7 separate regions of the Homo sapiens genome follow, and regions 1, 2, 4, 5, 6 and 7 are each linked to region 3. The links are contacts of gene promoters, found by promoter capture Hi-C in blood cells and fetal thymus (Javierre and others, 2016). All regions are on one chromosome and are shown on one strand. Each heading gives the region's core, a stretch centred on a gene start or on the middle of the fragment in contact. The rest is flanking DNA. Distances are from core to core; before and after follow the strand shown. Region 1 overlaps SNAP91 (synaptosome associated protein 91). Region 2 overlaps SNAP91 (synaptosome associated protein 91). Region 3 holds the start of CEP162 (centrosomal protein 162). Region 4 overlaps SNAP91 (synaptosome associated protein 91). Region 5 overlaps ME1 (malic enzyme 1). Region 6 holds the start of PRSS35 (serine protease 35). Region 7 has its middle 25 kb from the start of PRSS35.

Region 1 (3,236 bases), core at 287-2,786, 620 kb before region 3:
TTATACAGAATTCAAATATGCTTCAATAATAGAAGTGGCTTGATCTTATCAAACAAGATTGAGAAAACAATTTTATTTTTTTGCTTAGTCAAATAAACAAACACATATCTGTTACAATTTAGCATCACCTTCAACCATGACTGGGTATCCACCGGGCAAATTGTAGAAGTTTATTTCAATTTCTTAAAGTCTTATAATTTTTACTATTTTGCTTAGAAATTAGAGAATTTCTTTATTAGCATTTCCCCCCAAAGCTGACTTTTCTATTGCTATGAAATGTTGCAGTTGTAGATGTTTTGTTGCGGCAAAAGTGCTGTCTAATCATCAAAAGGTGAACATCAGGCCCTATAAGGTGCCTTTGTACTAATTATAAAAACGTACTCCCTGGGGCAAGGAGAAGGACAGCATTAGGACAAATGCATAATGCATGCGGGGCTTAAAACCTAGATAACTGGTTGATAGGTGCAGCAAACCACCATGGCACATGTATACCTATGTAACAAACATTCTGCATGTGTATCCCAGAACTTAAAGTTAAAAAAGAAAGAAATAAGAAAGTTTACATGGTTTTCACATATTTATCATTTTAAACAGGTTAAAGATAGTACCTTTCTTGGGTAAGTGTAGTGATGACCAGCATAGTACTTGTCACAGGAGCACTCAATCAATATTAGCTTTCATTGTAACTTGAGAGCTATCTTAGTTTTTATTGTAAAATTAATCTTATGTGTTTATCAAAAAAACTTTAACCTTATAGTCATTTAAAATAACTGAAAAAAGCATAAAAATATGCTTTTAAAATCAAACTACTATGGAAACTGCTTTACCCCAAATTTTGGCCCATTAGCTTACCTATTGGGACAACTGATGTTTAGCCATGTGAACAAGCCCCATTTTGTCAGAAATATAATTTGGATCCAACTGCCTTTTTGTGATTTTTTTTTCTTTATTTTTGAGAAAGGATCTCACTATGTTGCTCAGGCTGGACTCTTAACTACTGGGCTTAAGTGAGATTCTCATCTCAGCCTCCTCAGAAGCTACATGCATGAGCCACTGCACTCAGTTTTTTTAATCCAACTGTCTTTGGTAAATCAGTGAGTTCGTTTTACTGTCTTATGGCTAAAATTTGAAAATAAAATAAAAGCTATATTCTAAAATAAAAGCTATAATATCTTAAAAAGAAGAAAAAAAAAAGGTACTCCCTGTAGTGAGACAGATTAGAAAAAGTAAAGCATCTCTTTCTCAAGGATAATGAGAAAGGCTCACAGCGTGACTATAGAGTTCTGGCTGGATTTCAGCCCCCTTGCCCTGCCTTTGAGCAATGCATGATCTACATTGTCTGTATAGTACAGCCCTGGCTAAAACCATACTGCTCTGCTTTGTCTTTTTATGTCCAATGGTATGTTAATGTTTCAATCATCAATAGTTACATATTTCTAACTTTAAAGGCTAAAATGTATTCTAATAAAATTGGTTATTACAATCAATTCCTTACAATATTATGTGTCTTAGCAAAAAGTATTTAGAGATGAAAATGAATAAAAATGTTATATTGCAATTCAACAAAATTTCACCTTTTATTTTTTCCTTTTATTTGGCATTCTTTTAGTGCCAAAATTTTTTAAAAAAAGATAAAATTTATCTTCAGTTTCATGCCAGGGAATATGGAAAAGGGACTAGTTTACAGTTTCACTGTTTATTCATTAAAGTTCTAACAAAGACAATATGGTAATGAAAATAAATTATTAGCAAATTAAAATAATCAGTGATGAAGCTCAGAATAAAAACATGAGTAAAAAAGAATGCCCTTATAAAATCTCTTTAGCAATATTTTCCTTTACCAATAGAAATTTAATAAAGTTAAATAAAGCTGAGAGAACAATTTTATTTTAAAAATTGATAGCTGTAGCCTTAGGAGTTGAACATTTCAATATAGGATAAGGTTTACATATTTAAAATGGAAACGTGCCAACATTTTAAATGTTCTTATTTATAGTTAGCAACATTATTTCAGAACTGGTTATCTTTCTCTTATTTTTGTTACCAAAATAACTTGGAAATGAGATCAAGAGATTACAGATAGGACTTTTGATGTTATACTGACACACTGTTTAACAAGACCACCAAAGGACATTCAATTATTTAGAGAAATATAACTTCATTTGACTTAGTTATTATTGTGCACTAAAGGCTCTGATTCTCCAATGTTATGTTGTTACAGATCTTGTCTGCTAGTGATGCAAATAATCTCTGTATGGGAGAAAAGATAACCTCAAGGCTATGATTTTTATTACCCTATAGGTCATTAACAGCTTTCTATCTAACCTAGCCATCTTATTCTAACATTCCTTTTAAAATACCTATAAATACTCAGTTCCTCAAAATGTTCTTTGAGACAGCTTTATCATCTTGCTGGTTTCCTCATTAGTGAGTTACTAAGTCTTTTATTTCTGTTGCTCCTATAGTTGTACAAGGCATGTCTTAAACTTTTTGAAAATTTTATTCTGATAGTTTGGTACAGGAAGGCATGGTATTTAAAACCAACTCTTTGCAGCTTTGAGCATTATGAAGCAATTACTTTAATTTTTATATTAATATTAAATGTTTTAAATCAAATATTTATAAAAGGCTGATTTTTTTCCTGAGATCCATAAATAAAGTGGGAATCAAGTGCTTAGATGTGATTCCTCTCAGTCAATCAGTTTAAAGTATGGATTTTTCTGGTACAAATAAGAATCTGTAAAAAGATTTCAACTGTATGAAGTCAAATACAATGTGAATAAAATCAATTCAGGCCTAAAAGAATCCAGGAACGAGGCTACACCTGACCAAACCAAATTGGAAATGTTACCTTTGAGTAACCATAAATTAAGGGGAATACTCAATCCTCAAGGCCTGAGTCTCTAGAGAACAATTACTAAAAATAATCAGAATTTTAGAGTAGTAATAAAAAAGAACAACAAAAAACCCACAAAACTTCCTTGTTCCAACTGTTAAAATAAAAACTATATGACTATTTGAACATTCTCACTGTATTACAGGCACTTTCTCTGTCTCTCTCTCTCAATATATATTTCAATCAATAAATGCCATTCTTAACATTTTCCCTCCAAGTTTCTAATACCATTTTAGATAATCAAAAGGTAAATGTTAACAATTATAGCCTAAGTAAAAACAATGAAATAAAATGAATAGAGAAATGGCAAGGTTGTCTGGTTTTACTCACCTCCCCATGC
Region 2 (2,961 bases), core at 206-2,705, 640 kb before region 3:
CAATGGCGCCATCTTGGCTCACTGCAATCTCTGCCTCCTGGGTTCAAGCCATTCTCCTGCCTCAGCCTCCCAAGTAGCTGGGATTACAGCGTGTGTCACTACACCCAGCTAATTTTTGTATTTTTAGTAGAGATGGGGTTTCACCATGTTGGCCAGGATGGTCTCGATCTCCTGACCTTGTGATCTGCCCGCCTCGGCCTCACAAAGTGCTGGGATTATATAGGCATGAGCCACCGTGCCCGGCCACAAGAGTGCAATTTTAAAACTACTGCTAAAGACACTTCCACACAGGATGATAGAATTGATCCTCTGTAGACTTTTACCTTTTATAGGAAATTGTTACTTTTTAATGCCACACTGGGCATGTTTGTATTTTAAATTCAGTTCAAGGACTTCTGTGGCTCATTTTAAGCAATTAATGTGGTTAAGAGAACAAATGCAAAACTACAAAGGGCCTCATAGGCTGGACCATATAGTCCCTTGTCTTTGCAATTAAAGATAGGATGTGAAATTCTCTTATACTAGTACAGATTTATAGTGCAGTCACCCTAAAATTGTGTCTATGATGGAAAAACATGGTTGTCCTGCTCGATGCCAACCTCAGATGTTAGGCATATTCCTCAACACACCTAACTTCCTTAACAGTCCATTTTTACCTTTGTCATCCAGTAGTCTGCCTCTAGCTTTCAAACATCTGTATTTTCAGTTGGTATATTTTGAGCAGAGTTTGACAGCTTTACTCTTCACTGTATGAAATATTTACTTTTATTATTTAAAAACTTAACTTTCAAGTTTTCATTCAGATGTTACCTGAGATATGGATAATATCTGTATCCTACCAGTAATCTCAATGGCTTGGAAAGAATTACTCATTGTTGTTATGGATTCTCCCCTCTGCTTCCCCCCACCCCCATTATTCCTTCCTTTCTTCATTATTTTGATAATGATTTTTCTAGTCTGGCCTCTTTGGAAGTTGTCCTCTCCAGAATTTTTTATCATTTCACTATACTGCATGCACCAAACACCTTAAAATTTTTACTCAAGGGGTAGAAGACGACTAAGGCAATATTTCAAGTGCTGTTTAATTCTGGAATTGGTATTATCTGACAGTTCTAAAACTGAATTTGAATAAAGAAGAATAGTTTTTATGATAGATAGGTTCATTTTCAAGACTATCTAGTTAGTCTTTGTTTTCAAGTTTCAAAATGATACCAATTTTTAACAAAGCTTTCGCCTCAATTTTAAAATGGTTCTTAATGTTTAGTTTAAAATCTCTAAAATCATTTTAAAATTTAATTATATCATATATTTATTGCCTTATCTTTATGATTCACATGTAAATGTATTCACTCAAAAAAATCTAATCTTAGGCATGGGGTAAGAGTCCTTAGTCCAGTGACCAAGGTTCCCTTTGAACAGTCTAAACCTCCCATGACAGTGTCTGCATATTATTTTTCTTTTTCATTCTTTCTCAAAACAGTTTTATTACTAAAGGCAATCACAGGATTCTAGAGAATCTTTTTCTCTCTTCTCTCTCTTTGATTCTGATCATATTTGTGGGCTTGCTATGTATGACTAGGCTCATTTATTTATTTTTTTTTAAAAATCTTCTTAGTTTCAATAGACTGTGGACTTAGCTGATCCCTCCCCCAAATAAACACAGACACAACTATAATACAAATGCTAAGCTTCACTGCAAATTACTACACACAGTGCCCCAAATATTTGTCCTACTTAATATGCATTAAATAAAAATGTACGAGAATTGTGAAAACTCAGAAACAGCCAATTGTCAGCTAGGTTACAAATATAAATGTGACTGTGGTTTTATATTGCGTTTATTAGCAGAATTTTTTTCATTTTTTATTTTTTTGTTTTTGGCTAGGAAAGTTGCTCCTAGTTCACAGGATAGAATTATATTAATATTCCATGATGTTCTTTAGTGAGAATATGACTTCCTTATGCTTTGATACTTGAACAAGCGTGAGAAATATTTTTCTATAAGAAAACAGGGAAGTATGAAAAATTAGCCCCCAAAATTAAGCCCTATGGAAATTAAAAGTTAAAATTTCTTATGCTAGCTTATTTTTGTTTTTTGTTTTCAGTAGAGATTAGGGTTTCACCATGTTGGCCAGGCTGGCTCAAACTCCTGACTTCAAGTGATCCTGCCCATCTGGGCCTCCCAAAGTGGTGGGATTATGATTGTGGGACACTGCATCCAACCCCTTATATCAGGATATAAGGTGAAATAATATTTCACATTGTGCCAAATAAATCAGGCACTGACATATGTATACATTAAATTACAAGAACTGTTTTGAAAGCAAATGAGACATTAAACTCATCTATACTGATTTACATTGAATATTAATTTATTTAAATAGAAAAGAGAGAAATAAGAAAGTGTACACAATATATAACTTTGCCTATCACTGAAAGAGTCACAAGAAGATGCAGTAGAAGAAATGGAAAGTGTGTAGTAAATGAGACCTATGTAGATGACATTGGGTACTTTCATTGATGATTTTCTCCTCTTTTCTACCCCATTTTAATAAGATTTCAGAATAGACAACACAATTGAATAATTTTATTTTTTGTAAAGTGAACTAACATACTTTTTTTGTAGACTTCCCCTGCTGGACCTGTCCATATACCAAGCTGTGCAGCTGTGGCACAGGTATGTGCAGTTACACCTGGCAGCAGGTGACAAACCCCTTCAGGCTTGTTCTAGATGTGTTTTTAGATTCTTATTGCATCCCCCAGGGTCAAATCTCTTGGCTCTGTTACTGACTTCTAACTTGGAATTGGATGGGAACACTCCCTTTTCCCACAGGAAAAGGCCTTTCAGCTCCAGTTTCTAGTGTTCTGGGCTCTTTGAGAAACACAATATCTCAGGTTCTAGCCTTGGAGGACACAGAGAGGCCACAATGGAGGAGGATCCTGGAGTAGACAATGTGGCTG
Region 3 (3,244 bases), core at 621-3,120:
CCTTTTACTGGATAAACAGAAGAAGCCTCTCTGAAGTGGTGATATTTAAGTTAAGATTTTCACCAGCCAGGTAAAGAGTAAGGGAGGAGCATTATTGGCAGAGGGAACAGTGAGTGCAAAGCTCCTAAGGTGAAATGAGCTTGCAATGTCTGGGAAAGAAAAAAGGCCACTGTGGAATAAATAAAGTGGGTGAAAGAGGGATATGAAGGCAGTGAGATATGTAAGAGTGAAATCATGAAAGGCTTTAAAACCATGGTAAGGAGGAGTTGTTTGTTTTTTTTTTTCTACATGTGATGGGAGACCAATAGAGTCTTTTACTGGGGAGGAACAGAGTCTGACTGCAGTGTGGTGAAAGGAATGCTGGACCATGAGTTGAGAACTGCTGCCATAGCCCAGTTGAGATGATGGCACTGAACTAGCAGTGGCAGAAAAGGGACAGGGCTAGAGGGATGATGGGAATTCAGAGTTTGGTGATGGACTAACTGTATCTTCGAGATGACAGAATTGAAGGATGAGTCTTTTGAGACAAATTTGACAATATAGCTTTTAAAAATATAAACTTACCTCTTTCATAAACTGTTCAAACTCTTCATCTAGCTCTTCTTGGGAACAGTTAGCCATAGTCAACAATTTTGACCTCCCAAAGTAAACATTCTAAAGTACCTCAAACATTGGAAACACTAAATGACAAGAGACATAAACATCTTTTGAGGAAATCCATCAGATCATGAACACGACCAGACTTAAACTTCGGACATTTGTTATGATTCAGTATATATGCACAATTTTTTTTAACCAGTAAGAGCTGGTCAAGAGATTCCTAATTCATTAAGCAAACTGATTTGGAAAAGCAGCTTTGACAGGATGTCTTGTACTCAACGTTCAGAATTATGTTTTCATCTGTTAACATCCAATTGTTAAAGAGTGGTCTCTACAATATTTCCCAAACCTATGTTTGTGTGCATGTGTTAATTAGTACCTCTCAAACACAAACCAGGTCCTCACAGGGAATCTTAAAAACTGTAAGTTAGCAAATCCAAAGGACTGTTTCTTTCTTGCAAAGCACACGACAGTTTGTGCTGCCTTATCACTCGGCTCGTTATTTTACCAATCCATAGTAATAGTTTCGTAAAGCAGACTGCATAGTTTCGTAAAGCAGACTGTATCCAGATACGGGGATGTTTCAAAATATACACAAATAGAATTTAGTAAGAATTAGTAATTTAGTCAAAATACTTAAAGAATACTTAAAGTTAATGGAGTACACAAATCAGTACTATGTTTCTTTTGAAGCGAGGGAAGACCGACAAAAATTATGTGCTGAACACAAGCAGAATCCAGTGATTTGCAACGGAAAGCGTTCCCCTAGACACCTAATGAACCCAACCTTGGGTCGACCCCCAGCTCCTGAACTCCCTAGAGCAGCTCAAATCCCAGCTTTCTTCTGTAGAGATGGGGGAGGGGAAGAGGGCTTGCAGACCCGGACAATACCCTCCCCATCGTGCAGAGTAACACCTCTTCCCCTCATTTGCACTTTCGATCAGTTCAGGGTAAGTGCGGTTAAGGTCTTGGCCTGAATAGCTTGGTCAGGGGTGAGCTCCACTAAAAGCTTCTCAAGCCTGGCTGCGACCCCGTCCCCAGAAGCGCGGGTTCGGGAATTGGAGGGAAGACAAAGACGCATTTGCCGTGGGCTCCGGGCGGAGAAGGGGAATGACCTGGAAAATTAAAGCCCTTCGCTCGAGTATGAAGCACGGCCTCGACCAGGGCGATTTGGGTGGGAAACCAGCGTTCACACCTTACCACCTACCTCTGCCTCTGAATTCCGCGCTTTCCCGGAAGGTCTGTGCGGGTCCACCAGTTGTCAGGGTAACAGACTTCAGCTGCCGGGTTCTGGAGTCACATGACCCGGGCTGGTCACGTGGGCCGTGGGTTTCCCAATGCCTTTACAAGCGAAGGTCGGAATAACCACGGCTGAGAAAGACACTCTAGTGGCTAAACCTTCGCTGCTGCAGTAAAATGCCTTTCCTTCCCTGGCTTTCTCTACGTTCCTTAGAAAAGGGGACAGCGGCAAACCGGTTACTGGAGAAGCGAGACGGAGGCTTCCAGCAGGCTTGGAGGGCGCGGTGGTTGTAGGCCAGCCCGTGGCTTTCTGGGAAATGTAGTTTAGCTCCCCTGGTCCTTGTGTTTCCGCACTCCGCATCGTCGCCTCCCGCCTTCCCCACACTTGTCATTCGAGCGCTCTGTTTTTCCAAGGGGCAATTTTGAAGAGATTGAATTTCTTGGATTTCTTTGGCCTGCAAAGACCTGTGTAGGCATTGTGAGAGAAACACAAACCTGTGAGGAAAAAAACTGTCGTTTAGATGGGGACTCTGTTCCACCACCTAGTGGGCAAGAAATCGAAAATACGCAAACAGCAAGATTCTTATTAAGTTATTGCTCCTCCCGCTACCCCTACTTTTCAAAACTGCATTCTTTACTGGCATTTCACAATTACTGACTTGGATTTTGTTTTCTATTTCTTTTCTTTTTTTCAAAGCATGCAACATTAGCTGGAGTTTCAGAGGACAACATTTAGCATAGTGTAAGTAAAATCTACAACAGCTGCAGGTTTTGCTGATGGTAGACTTAGTTCAGGACCTCATCTTTAGCTAGAACTGTTTATTCATCAAGTCTTTCTTGCAATACAAATATGTACAAACCAGGAGCTGTGGACTATGATGCAAATATGAATAATAAAAGAAATATCTTAAGCTACCATTTATTGAGAAGTTGACTTCCTGCCACCTTCTATCAAAGACTTACCTTCCCACATATGATCTAGAGCCTTTACCCATTCTTCTTCTCACTGATCTTGTTCCACTGGTCATTTCCCTTAATCCTGTATCTTCGACTTCTGGCTGGCTGTGGGATTTTTCCTAACAGCATTTGAACATGCCTTGAGATCCCCACCTAAAACATCACTTCTGACACATTCTCTTCATGCTATTATTTCCCAGTGGTTGAAATGATCTGTCTCCTCACCTTACTTGCCAATCTTTTCTGAGGAATTATTTCCACTTTACCTCCCTTTTGTCAGACCTTTTAATCCTGTCTCTGTGTGTGTAAGTGTACATATATGACAGCGCTTTATTTGATCTCCCAATACTATTTGATACACTTGTCTCCTCTCTTTCTTGGTTTTTCTTTCACATTTATAGCCTCCCCTCAAGGGTTTTCACTGTCTCTGTCTATCCTAGCTGACCTC
Region 4 (2,953 bases), core at 330-2,829, 600 kb before region 3:
TTGTTGTTCACTTCTGTGTGTCATATATACTCAATGTTTAGCTCCCACTTATAAGTGAGAACATGCAGTATTTGGTTTTCTGTTTCTGCATCAGTTTACTTGGGATATTGGCCTCAAGCTCCATCCATGTCTCTGCAAAGTACATGATCTTTTCTTTTTAATGGTTGTATAGTATCCCATGGTGTATATGTATCACATAAAAATAAATGTTAATATTGAAATTTATGTGGCGCTTAAGGTCATAACAAAAGAAGAGAATAGAGTGCTAATAGATTCTAATGAATTTCTACCATAGAATAGCTTTCTAACAGACCCAGGGCAAGATTTTACTTTCTTTGAGGGAGGAGTCTCTGTTCCCTAAATTATGAAAACACACATCTTAAATCATTCAGTAAAATATAATGTTTCTGGGCTTCTTGAGGGGGAGATTATAAATATTATAATGACTATAATAGTATCATTAAAAATTTAATCCAAGTATATGATTTCAATGATGTACTTTCAATGACATGCTCTCATTGTCTAATGTTAAAAGCAAAAACAGATTTAAGTAGTCATTTGAATATTTCCTTGTTTCCTTTCAGACTGCCCAAACTAAGTATGATAGATGAGGACCTATATTCTTAACTGAGAGCCTACTTTCTCTTTTATTCTACAGTAAGGGTGTCCATAGATGTGAAATAAAGATGATTTGCCACTTCTAGAAGCTATTCATTAGCTTCTAAATATCAGAGCTAAATATTTTAATGTCTTAAAAGTTAACATGTATTACTTATGTGGATTATTTTTTAAAATGTACTATAAATTTTACTAAAAATGATTAGTTTAAATGAAAACACACTTATTTTCTTTGCTTTTAATTATAGTGTTACAAAGATAAATCTATATCTAATAAAGAGATTTTTAGTGGCACTTTATGCACACTTAATTTTTTGGCCATATCCAAAATGATACCAATATCTTATTCAGGTATGTGCCTCGTCAAAAAACACTGTTTTCTCATAGTAGCAGAAATATTTTATACCAATATTCTGTCTATGAAAAAGAACTGCTTCTCAACTTTTCACTAAAAAATACAATGCCATCATGTTCTGGATTGCTCTGTGAATTTTATTCATAAAGAATTCTTGATATTTAATTGGCATTTTAATAATACAAATAACATTTCTTTGAGTTTCCCTAATTTTTAATAAAAACTTAAGGATTAATATTATTTTAAAGATGGAAACATTTCAAGGCATAATAAGGACAGCAAATTACTAAATGCACTTTGATATTATTAACAAGTAGGTATCTTTCATTATGACAATTTTTTCTATTATAATGACTATATTTACAAGGACAGAAAGTTCATATATTCATTACTGGTAAATAAGATAGCAGCTCTGTGTTTTCTCCTATCATCTCTACAATAACATCATTGCTAGTTAAATAACATGTTTGGGATATAACTGTACCATAACAGAGTGCTTAAGTAAAAACAGTTCCTGCCAATTATGAGAAAGGTTATACTATACCCATGAATGACCTTGAATCTATATATTAGGATCCATACACAGTACCCTCTTCACAGATAAAATGATTGATACAGAAGCCCCTCTATTGTTGTCATTTACTAGATGGGCTCCAGAAAAATTGCTCATCTACCACTACTATTTTATTAGCTTATTTTATACATGGACATTTCTCCATTTCATAGGGGAGACAAGTAGTTCAACTGTGACATCAGAGTTTTCCCTATTCATGGGTCTCCTTCATATCTGGGACATGTTGGAAACTAGGAAGACAAGCAGGAGGAAAAGTTCTAATATTCTGATTATCAGGCCTAGAAATAGTGACTTTTCATAGCCAAAGCATTTCTATTAACATTATTCAAGGTTTCCTTTTGATCAAGTTTAAAATGAAAAGATGAGTTCATTTACTAAATTCAGTTGCGTTTAAAGAAGAAACTATATCATAAGAACAAGAAAATCTTCCTATTACCTCCAGAAATATATTCAATGGCTAGAAACAATAAATAAGGTAGAATAATTTCCAAGAAAGTTGGTTGGCCTAAGTTCAAAATGCATGAAATGCTTACAAGACTATGCCCATTTGTGGCAATATATGTTGTAATAATCTCATGCATACTGAATCTTCCACTGGGAGAGTTGCTTACCTGTGTGAGGTCAGGAATGTCACCTTTATCAATACCAACTTGCTGTGGATTTAAAAAATTAGAAATTAGTAGAACTTTTAAAATTAATTTTTTTCATTTAATGGAAGATCACCTACACAATTAGTTTAAACAGCTCAATATTGGTGTAAATGAATTATTTTATGTATCACTCTCACTTGGAACATATGCTTTTTATGCAGTTTTTCACTCAATATAATAGAGCAGTAATTTCATTAATATAGTTAGACATAACAAATGTATAGAATTCTACTAGAATCCAAAAACAAATGACAACAAATTGAAGCATAAAATGTAATGGTATCCTTAGTTAACAGAAGCTCAAAATGTAAAACACTGCTTAGACTAAATTTAGTAGTTAATTATGCCCAGCTTCTGGATAGGGAATGCTCATTTAGTTCTAAAACTCATTCAGGGTATAATTTCCACTCTTTCTCCCACAGACCTAACTTTGTTAGTTTCTTATGTATCCTTTCAGAGTTTCTTTATGTATATTCAAGGAAATATGAAATTATACAAATATATACTTATTTCCCCATTACAACACAAATAATAACATATTATATATAATGAACTTATGTTTCACTAAAAAATATATCTTAGACATATATCCATATCAACACACAGAATATCCTCATTTAATAAACAGCTGCATAGAACTTCCTTGTCCTATATTTAATTAGTAACTTATTAATGGACACTAAAGTTGCTTTTGATCTCTTGCCATTGCAAACAGTGCTGCACACACCATTTTGCATGTGTAATGTATATATCTGT
Region 5 (3,338 bases), core at 689-3,188, 800 kb before region 3:
AGATCTCTATATTTCAATTGAAGTGGTGAAATTTTAACTTTAAGTTGACTGTGAAAAGTTCGGTATGTGTATCATAATCACCAGACCAAGTACTAAAAACAAGCTATACAAAGAAATATTGTCAAAAACTCACAGAATAAATCAAAATGGAATAATAAAAATATTTAAGTAATTAAAAATTAGGTTGGAAAGGAGAAATAGAGGAATGAAAAATAAGGGAACAGACACCTATGATATGATAGAAATCTGTTTATCTCTCTGTGTATCAACAATTACATTAAATGTAAATGGCCTAAACACAAAAATCAAAAGACAGAGATTGTCAAAAATTGGCAATGGCTACAAGCAAACCTGACTGATTAGATCATTACTGCTTCTCACCTACATGTTCCTGTCAAAGTCCAGAAAATGTCTACTAAACAAAGCAAGGGAAAGTGCTGTATTATGAAATTTTGCTTCAATTACAGAAGTATATCATTAGTTTGCTAGGGCTGCCACAACAAAGCGTCACACACTGGGTGGCTTAAACATAAATTTATTTTATCAAAGTTCTGAAGGATAGAAGTCCAAAATCAAGGTGTCTGGAGGGCTGATTTTATTCTATGGCTTCTCTCCTGGACTTACTAGATGGCCATCTTAAGACTCTGAATAGACAATTTAAATGTATTTAAATATATTCTAAGCTTAAAGGGCCAATGCCTAATAGTACAATGGAAGTCTTAGAACTCCTTCAGCCTCTGGATCTCTAAGGTTTTATTCTTTTGTTTTGTTTTGCTTTGTTTTGTTTTTCTGAGACAAGGTCTCAATCTGTCATACAGGCTGGAGTGCAGTGGGTGTGATCATGGCTCACTGTGGCCTCCCACCTCAGCCACTCAAGTAGCTGAGACTACAGGTGCACACCACCATGCCCAGCTTTTTGTATTTTTTTTTCTTTTTTGTAAAGATGGGATTTTGCTATGTTTCCCAGTCTGGTCTTGAACTCCTGGGCTCAAGTGATCCTCCTACCTCGGCCTCCCAGGTGGCTCACATCTGGCATTACAGGTGTGAGCCATCACAACTAGCCTGATAACATAATTACTAACATTGGTATGAATACTGTATTAGTCTGTTCTCATGCTACTAATAAAGACATATCCAAGACTGGGAAATTTATAAAGAAAGATGCTTAATTGACTCACAGTTCAGCATGGCTGGGTAGGCCTCAGGAAACATACAATCATGGCGGGAGGGGAAACAAACACATCCTTCTTCACATGGCGGCAGGAAAAAGAATGAGCAAAAGGGGGGAAAGCCCCTTATAAAACCATCAGATCTCGTGAGAACTCACTCACTACCAGGAGAACAGCAGCATGGGGGTAACCACCCCCATCATTCAATTACCTCCCACTGGGTCCCTCCCACAACACATGGGGATTATGGGAACTACAATTCAAGATGAGATTTGGGTAGGAACACAGACAAACCATATCAAACACACAAGTATTTTTGCCGATGTTCTTACTCAACCATTACCTGATTATTGAAAAAATAATACCAGTGTTTTTAAATCCAGGGTCTGTATATTAGTAGAAAAGCTCTAGCAGTTATATTCTCATGTTTTTAGAGAACATTATTCATTATTATATTACCTGACTTCCTACTATGGTTTCAATCTGTCCCCAAAAGTCCATGTGTTGTTAATCCCCAATGCAACTGTGTTAAGAGGTGGGATTTTTATGAGGTGACTAGTATTGTTAATGCAGGAGTGGGTTCGTTATTGCAAGCAAGAGTGGGTTCCTTTATAAAAGCAAGTTCAGCCCTCTCTTGCTCCTTCTCACCCTCTACCATCTTGCCTTCCGCCATGGGATGATGTAGCAAGGAGGACCTTCCCAGATGCTATATCACACAGCTAATTGGGAGGCTTGGGACTTGGGCTCATTTCTTCTAGGCACAAAGTTTTAGAATGTCCATTCCTTTACATCACATTCTCCCCTACCTGTCCAAAAGTTAGAGGGAAATCAGAGCTGAAAAAGGCAAAATCTCAAATCCATTCCTTTCTTCAATATTTTTTATACTCCATATCACCTGTCTCAAGAGTTACCATATCAAACTCACCTTTCTTATTACAGCACACATTTTGTTATTGTGATATTCTATACTACTACTGTTGTTTCCACTGCAGCAAGGTAACAAACATATACAGAGGTACCTGGCTGTATATGACTTTCACATAAGTGGGATTCTATGTTAAATAATAAATCAGTTTCTCACGTTGCAGAGGCAACTCTAGAGAATGTGGTTGGATGAAATTTTCTGAATAATTCATTCAGGTCTAGTTTACATTGAAGAAAAAGAGGTTTAGGGTACTTTTCCTTCATTGCCATGAATCTTATTTCTCTCTCTTTCTTACAACACACCCAACTAGGTCTTGTCATGCCAGGAAACAAACAGCTACAAAAGCTGATTTTTTAGATGTAAAAGTTAGTAATGATGACCCAAATTAACTTCGATAAAACACTATCTTCTACTGGAACGTAACTCTTAAACATGACTTATACTGAACCAAACTGCCTAAAATATGGAAGAGTGGTGTTGTTTGGAGATTTACTTATGGGTCATGTTATTATTTACTCTTAAGATATAGAAACCATGTAAGCACAATTATGATAGAACTATCAATTAGTGTTTTCTACCATTGCAAAGGGAAATAAACTAATTGAGAATAAAAAATAGGCATGATTATTTTATTATGTGTAGAATTTTAATTTTGAAGGGCAATTTATGAAATATTATTAGTCACATGAAAATTATTGAGAAAAAAATTTAAAACACAACTCATCTATATTAGACCATATCCCTGAAAATAAAAAACATTAAACATTAAATTAGACACATTTATATAAAACCGGCAAAGATAAGCATCTCAAAAATAGTTAGGGCTATGCACAGAAAAATATTAAATCTCATAAACATGAGGCAGATTTACTTCCCCAATTGTTTTGATGAAATCCTACCTTGAATGATGCATATTTTAATACAAACAAATAGTAAGGCTTAGACTCATACATGAATCATAACAAATGAAGATCCTAATTCTCTTAAGTTTTTTGAAAATTTTTGAATTCATACCATATCTACTGTTAACTTTGATTTTACCAAGATGAAGCACCTCCCTTAGGTTATCCAGCAAGTAATTAAAATTTCATGAGATTATCAAGCTTAAACCACATTTCAACTTTTCTGACTACATTTCAGCATACTATATAATGGCATAGGAAGTGAACTAAACTTTAGACTTCAATGTGAATTTATTTTCACAAAATTACTTTAAAGAGGACAATGCCTAAACTATCACTTTA
Region 6 (3,253 bases), core at 719-3,218, 710 kb before region 3:
TTGAATATGGGATGATTTTAGTATGGGGGGGCGGAGGGGAAGAGGGCCTGGAACTAGTCCGTTGAGTATAACGAGGGACAATGCTAAGTATGTTATAATCTCATTAAAAGTACACAGAACTTGAGATACGCAATAACCTACTAACGAACCAAGTGTTACAAGACATGCTAAGACCTTGTGTTGTAAGTACTTGTGCACTTACTCGATCTCCCTGCTTTAGGGCCAGGACCGAGTTTTTTTGTTTTTGTTTTTGTTTTTGTTTATGTATTCTCTCGTTGTATCAGTTCATCTTGCCCCAGACCTGTCACCCACTAGAATTTGTTGTTAAACAAATGAAGCTTCCTTTCTCATGTGGCCCCCACCCCTCTCCTAAAGGAGAATAAAAGGTCGAGAGAACGGATGAGGTTAGAATGCTGGTGGGACTGAGATGGGAAAGGACCTTAAAGGTTACTCGCCCAAAGAGGAAAACCAGCCTTTTCCCTGCAGACGGAAACTGACGCGCTCCCCCTGGAGGCAGCGCAGGATGCTCCCGGGGGTCCAGGCGTCCCAGCCTGAGGTCCCCATCCTCGTGTGCAGCCTGGGCGCCTGGTACAAGTCGGGGTAACCCTGAGGCTTGTGCATCCAGAGAAGCTAGGTCCCCGGTGGAGACTAGCTTGGGATAAGGTTGGGGAGACGCCCTCCGTTCTTCTAGATGCCTGGGGTCTCAACAGCAAGCAGTGAGGAATGAGACTCTTAACTGAACAACTCCTGAGACTGTTAAAGGAGTGCATACTATTACAGGGACAGGCATCCCCTGTGAACCTACTCATGAATTTTTCCTAATGCTTAATTCAGCTTGGGGGCAGAAATGCTGGGGTGAGACACGGCCAGGTCCGCCCCGTTCCTCCAGGGAACTCCCCTCTCCGCCCTCCCTCTCCGTCTCCTCTTGCCCACCTCCTCCTCCTCCCCTCCCCCCACTCCATCCCACCGCGCCCGCCCCTCGTCATCGCCCCCTTTCCCCTCCCATCTCCCGGCCGTGGTGCGGCGCAGCTCTCTCCCCCTCCGCAGTCTCAGTGGCGAGCTCTGGGTGCTGTGGCCCGGCCTTGGCGGGGCGGCCTCCGGCTCAGGCTGGCTGAGAGGCTCCCAGCTGCAGCGTCCCCGCCCGCCTCCTCGGGAGCTCTGATCTCAGCTGACAGTGCCCTCGGGGACCAAACAAGCCTGGCAGGTAAAGATGAAGCTCCCCAAACCCAACAACCTTAGAACTTAGAAATTTCCCTGAGAAAGGCAGGACCTACCCGAGGAGAGCTTCTTTGAAGGACTTTGAAGAAAGGGATCAAACTTGACACTTTCTTTCAGTCCTCAAAGAAACTAACCACCCTTCCCATAGGCAATTCTGTGTGCCGGCCTCTGCACAGTTTAATATTAACGACAACAATGTTTGCATTGGAATATAAATGGAATTCTTTCTGCTTAAGCAGTACCAGAGGGGACCCTCTTTATTTTTATGATTGTTAACAGATGCCATTGAGAAAGGTATGAAACGCATTCCTGAAAAGTCTCTTTGGCGGGGTTACTATGAAAGCTAGCCTCTCCCCTCTACCCTTTTATCAACTTGGCTGCGGAGGTCAGCAAAAGGAGCATAGGAAAACGTTTAGAAAATGAGGCGGCGAAATGAAGTAGAAAAGCTTTTGACTTGCTTTGAAATACTCTAGCTGAAAAAAAAAAGTGTGTGGGGTGGTGATGGTGGATGAAACATTGGCAAAATATTGACAATAGTTGAAGCTGGTGATGTGCACATGGGGGTTGTACTTTTCTCTCAACTTAATACTTTTCTCTGTGCTTTTGTGTAGTCTTGAAATTTTCTATAATAAAAGGTTTTTTAAAAAGTTGTAGAAACACTCCCGCTTGATTGCTCTGACATTTTTACACTGTCCTTGATTTGAAAAGAAGCTGCTTGCTGTGTCTAGGGGGCTTTCACCCCTTATTAACCCTTCTGACTTCTGAAATTCATTCTTATTTTATCCGAAGTACATTTGTCTCCACAGAGGATTATAAAAGTCATATTTTGCTGGCTGGAGAATTATACTTAGAATCTGGTTTATAATTTAGAAGAGAGAATGTTAAAATCCCTGCCAAATAAGACATGTAGGCTTGAAGGTAGAGGCCAAGTATCATATGGAATTTTATTTTTATTAGGAAATATTAGAGGAGTTCCTTTAGTGAGGGAAGTGGTAGATGTGGATACTGTACCCCATTTTTCTTCCAGATAGCTGGGAAAACTGCATGCTTTTAAGAAGCTTTTTCACGTTTTAAAATGTGAGACTGTTTAGCATATACTTGGCATACAGTATGTGTTCATTAGATGTTAAAATAAGCAATTGCTAGTGTGAGTTAATTTTCTCCATTGGGTAAATGATTTTCCTCTGCCCAATGCTCAAATATCAAACAAGCATATTGCATTTTAACAGTAGGATCAGACTCAGAATTTGGGAGGATAGAGCTACTTTACCTTAGCACTGAGGTAACTTTGCAGATGAGAAATCTGAGATGGAGAGGTTAGGAAACAGTAAAGTTAAGTTAGTAGTATGCAAGCTATTATTTTATAACTAAAAAACGTTAAGCTTCGTATAGGTAAAACTGATGTGGGTTAGCTAAAAACATTGTGACCATAGATGCTTTAAAACCTGAAAAGTAGCATACCTATTTATAGATATTCTTTGCTCTCAAAGGCCAACTTGAAAAATACAGATAAGTCTAGAGCTATATGCTGTGCACTTCATAAGGCAGCATATGAAAGAGTCCTCTTGGGGTTCCTTTAATGTCATTCACCCAAAATTTGATTTATCCATAGGATTGCACAAATTGAGATGTACAGGTCATGGAAAAATAGCCCCCAAACAAAGGGAGGTTTTGTTTTTTATTGTGATGAGAAACAGAAGTTGTGGGTTACTGTAAAATAATCAACTGTGTAACTTTACCATCTTCCTTTCCCTCAAGTACTGCCAAACTTTTTAAGCAGACATTTTTTTGGTCTCCATTTATGAAACTAAACTTGAAAATAGTGCTATGGTATGATATTTTGAATAGAAATTGGCCCACTGTCAATGAACTTTCTTGCCATTTATTCTCAGCCTAGAATCAGTGGAGAGCTTATCCTTTAGTAATGGATTATAAAGTATTTGATAAACGTGAAATATTTGGCAGGTTCAAGATTTTCCTTAGCATTGAAATAAATTGTGGCACATTTGGGGGACTAGTTAACAGTGCTGTAGGT
Region 7 (3,320 bases), core at 372-2,871, 690 kb before region 3:
CTAGGAATTGATGCAGGTTTTACGTCAGGTAAATGTGAACAAATGGGAATTTTGAGAAGGAAACCTTCTGGAAGCACTATTTAGGCTGTACTGGGGTGGTTTGAGTGGGGATTAGACGCAAAAGAGCCCAATACAGAGACTGCTGGAGCAGCCGTGGTAAGGAAAAGGCAGAGAGAAAGGCAAGAGAGGACACCTTGTGAGATATTTAGAGAGCTGAATGTTTACTATACTTAGTGGCCTTTGAATACAGGAGAGAAGAGTTGAGGGTGTTCTGTTCCCTGAACTTCTGGTTTGGGAGACTGGGTAGATGGTGAGAACACTGACCAAGACAGAAAGATTAGGCTTGGGGAAAAAGATAATGAGTTCATTCTTAGACATGTATGTTAAAAAGTGTTGTAGGATACTTATCAATAACATTGACAATACCCTTAATAATGACAAGAAAGTTAAATAAAAAACGTGGTTCTATAGTGAACTAACCTATTAATTAACAACATAACCAGTAAGTCATATAACTATATTTTGTTCTGAACTCAAATAGCATCTACACCTTTTTTCTCTTTCCTTTCTTCTTTTTCTTTCTTTCCTTCCTTTTCTTTCTTTTTCCTTCCTTCCTCCCTTCTTCCTTCTTTCTTTTTCTTTCTTTCTCTTTCTTCTTTTTCTTTCGTTCGTTCTTTTTCTTTCTTTTCTTTCTGATTTTTGACTTTCCGACTTTCTAACTTTCCTTTCTCCTTCATTCCTTCCTCTTTTTCTTTTTTTCCCTTTTCTTCTTTCTTTCTAACTTTCTAACTTTGCTCTTTCTCCTTCCTTCCTTCTCTTTTTCTTTCTTCTTTCTTTTCTTTCCTTCTTTCTTTTTCTTTCTCTTTTGTTTCTCTCTTTCCTTCTTCCTTTCTTTCCTTTCTCTCTTTTCTCTCTCCTTCCTCCCTCCCTCCTTTCCTTTCTTTTCTTTCTCTTTTTTCTTTCTTTTCTTCTTTGTTTTCTTTCTCTCTCTCCTTCCTTCCCCTCCCTCCCTCTCTTCTTTTCTCTTTCTTTTCCTTCCTTCCTTCTCTTTCTCTTTCTTTGGTTCTTTCTCTCTCTCCTTCCTTCCCCTCTCTCCCTCCCTCCCTCCCTTTTCTTTTTCTCTCTGCTTCTTTCTCTTTCTTTTCTTTCTCTCCTTCCTTCCCCTCCCTCCCTTTCTCTCTTTCTTTTCTTTTCTTCTTTCTTTCTTTCTTTTTCCTTCCTTCCTTCCTTCCTTCCTTCCTTCCTTCCTTCCTTCCCTTTCTCTCTTTCATTTCTTTCTCCTTCCTTCCTTCCTTTCCTTGTTCTTTCTTTCTGAAAGAGTCCCTACTGTCACCCAGGCTGGAGTGCAGTGATAAAACTATGGCTCACTGCAACCTCAATCTGCCAGGCTCAAGCAATGCTCCCACCTCAGCCTCCCGAGTAGCTGGTACCACAGACGCATGCCACTATGCCTGGATAATTTTTGCATTTTCTTTAGAGACAGGGTTTTGCCAAGTTGCCCAGGATGGTGCTGAACTCCTGGGCTCAAGTGATTTGCCTGTCTTGGCCTCCCAAAGTGCTGGGATTACATGTAGGCATGAGCTGCCACACCTAGCTACCTTTCTTTTTCTGGTCTAAACAAAATGTTCCTTTTAATTTATCTCTAAATCTTAATTTTTTTTCCCTAAGAGACAGGTTTTCTAAAAATCTGGTCCTAAATTTACATCTGAAATATTACATGCATGGTCACAACTGCATTTCCTGTTTTTCAATACAGTGCCAAAATCCACGTGATCCAAAATACGGATGATTTAAAAAATAACTCCGACTTTCCTTGGGACACATTTATAAGACTTTTCAGACCATTGTGGGTTCTGGTTTACAGATACCGCTACAAATTATAAAAGTAGTTAACTTACCCCAAAGATGTTTCATACACTGAAAAAGAAAGATGAACCACAAGGATGTTGGGTGTCTGGAGATGAATTTAGTATCAAAGGGTGGTTTAACACCAGAGAAAATGATCACTAAGAGGTGACTGTCTCCCTTTATCTTTATTGCAAGGGGACCGCTCCAGGCCCTGCCGCTTTGTGGGGCTACTGTTTGCAGGCCTGGGTGCTGTTCTAGGCTACAGTCTCTTGTAGTCATAGGCTTTTGCTAAAAATTTTCACCCTCCTCCAGCCCTGATGGTTGCAACCTGCACCACACTACTGTGTTCACTCTCAATATTCTTATGTTCAATATCATCTTCCATCTCAGTCTAATCCATTACTAAATATTTTTTCTTTAAAAAAGTCATCGTCAATTCACAAAGTATGTTTGTTAATATTTTTGATCTCCAAGTAGAAACACTTTAAATTTTATCATTGGCCAAAAGCATCCATCAGCATCTTTATGTTCTTAGAAAGTGTCACTGGATATTGGAAACTGCGTAAGGAGTCTCCAAGAAATGGAGTTTAATCTCTGCGATGGATGCTTCTCATGCCATGCCAGCCCATTTCCCAGCTGGAGCACCCATCCTCCAGTGTGGTCAGGGGACTCCTAAGGATGCCAGAGAACCTTTCAGAACGTCCATGTCAAAACTGTCTTCACAGTAATACTAAGACACTCACTTTCCCACAAGTGTGCTCACAACAGAATTTTCCAATAACTACCTGACATGGGCTATTGTAACATGTTGAATGCAGAAGCAGATATGAGAATGCAGCTGTCTTCTGTTAAGTCTAAAATTAAAGAGATTTGCAAAAATGGCAAAACGGGACCACTTTTTTAAGTTTCTAAGATTTCACCTATATGTGAAATCTAAAAAAGTCACACTCATAGAAGCAAAGAGTAGTATTTTTCATAAAATATTTTATTTAATATATAGTGGTTTTAATATTTATATTTTTACTTTTACTACATTATTTTGAGACAGAGTCTCACTTTGTTGCCCAGGCTGGAGTGCAGTCACATGATTCGGCTCACTGCAACCTCTGCCTGCCAGGTTCAAGTGATTCTCCTGCCCCAGCCCCAAGTAGCTGACATTATAGCATGATAAACATGCCGCCATGCCAGGCTAATTTTTGTATTTTTAGTAGAGATGGGATTTCACCATGTTGCCCAGGTTGGTCTTGGACTCCTGACCTCAAGTGATCTGCCCACCTCAGTCTCCCAAAGTGCTGGGATTGAATACAGGCATGAGCCACTGCGTTCGGCCACTTTTACTACATTACTTTTAATAGCAAAACCAGCAATTACTTTTGCACCAATCTAATACATAAATAAAAATTAAACAAATGTAAAAGAATTTCAGTTTTATTTTCTAACACAGTAAATATTGACAGACATAACCCACCTAC

The links. The method cuts DNA at HindIII sites, captures the fragments that hold promoters and counts their contacts. A CHiCAGO score of 5 or more calls a contact.
Region 1: a contact is called between a fragment that was not itself captured here and the fragment with the promoter of CEP162 in region 3, in 4 of 17 cell types (M2 macrophages, M0 macrophages, monocytes and 1 more). The highest score is 8.3, in M2 macrophages.
Region 2: a fragment that was not itself captured here is called in contact with the fragment with the promoter of CEP162 in region 3 in 3 of 17 cell types (M2 macrophages, monocytes and M1 macrophages); the score reaches 6.2 in M2 macrophages.
Region 4: a contact is called between a fragment that was not itself captured here and the fragment with the promoter of CEP162 in region 3, in 4 of 17 cell types (monocytes, M2 macrophages, M1 macrophages and 1 more). The highest score is 7.5, in monocytes.
Region 5: a fragment that was not itself captured here is called in contact with the fragment with the promoter of CEP162 in region 3 in 1 of 17 cell types (monocytes); the score reaches 5.1 in monocytes.
Region 6: a contact is called between a fragment that was not itself captured here and the fragment with the promoter of CEP162 in region 3, in 1 of 17 cell types (monocytes). The highest score is 5.0, in monocytes.
Region 7: a fragment that was not itself captured here is called in contact with the fragment with the promoter of CEP162 in region 3 in 1 of 17 cell types (monocytes); the score reaches 8.0 in monocytes.

Annotation. Positions count from the first base shown.
Region 1 is chr6:83,602,459-83,605,694 of GRCh38, forward strand. SNAP91 (synaptosome associated protein 91) reads right to left here. Exons shown (of 30, transcript NM_001242792.2): 14 at 3,227-3,236. Among named protein-coding and RNA genes, the nearest start is that of PRSS35, 92 kb to the left of the region's middle. The HindIII fragment of the contact is 4,845 bases long and covers 1-3,236 here.
Region 2 is chr6:83,585,905-83,588,865 of GRCh38, forward strand. All of the region lies in intron 22 of SNAP91 (synaptosome associated protein 91), which reads right to left. Among named protein-coding and RNA genes, the nearest start is that of PRSS35, 75 kb to the left of the region's middle. The HindIII fragment of the contact is 461 bases long and covers 1,226-1,686 here.
Region 3 is chr6:84,225,773-84,229,016 of GRCh38, forward strand. CEP162 (centrosomal protein 162) reads right to left here and starts at 1,871. Exons shown (of 27, transcript NM_014895.4): 1 at 1,808-1,871; 2 at 565-680. The coding sequence starts at 621. RefSeq lists enhancers at 1,284-1,784, 1,785-2,285, 2,187-2,346. The HindIII fragment of the contact is 5,497 bases long and covers 1,608-3,244 here.
Region 4 is chr6:83,621,143-83,624,095 of GRCh38, forward strand. It overlaps SNAP91 (synaptosome associated protein 91), which reads right to left. Exons shown (of 30, transcript NM_001242792.2): 9 at 2,159-2,200. Among named protein-coding and RNA genes, the nearest start is that of SNAP91, 86 kb to the right of the region's middle. The HindIII fragment of the contact is 8,728 bases long and covers 1-2,953 here.
Region 5 is chr6:83,424,240-83,427,577 of GRCh38, forward strand. The region is part of intron 1 of ME1 (malic enzyme 1); the gene reads right to left. Among named protein-coding and RNA genes, the nearest start is that of ME1, 5.1 kb to the right of the region's middle. The HindIII fragment of the contact is 2,514 bases long and covers 682-3,195 here.
Region 6 is chr6:83,511,491-83,514,743 of GRCh38, forward strand. It overlaps PRSS35 (serine protease 35), which reads left to right and starts at 1,044. Exons shown (of 2, transcript NM_153362.3): 1 at 1,044-1,204. The HindIII fragment of the contact is 612 bases long and covers 1,663-2,274 here.
Region 7 is chr6:83,536,333-83,539,652 of GRCh38, forward strand. No RefSeq gene overlaps it. Among named protein-coding and RNA genes, the nearest start is that of PRSS35, 25 kb to the left of the region's middle. The HindIII fragment of the contact is 3,407 bases long and covers 1-3,320 here.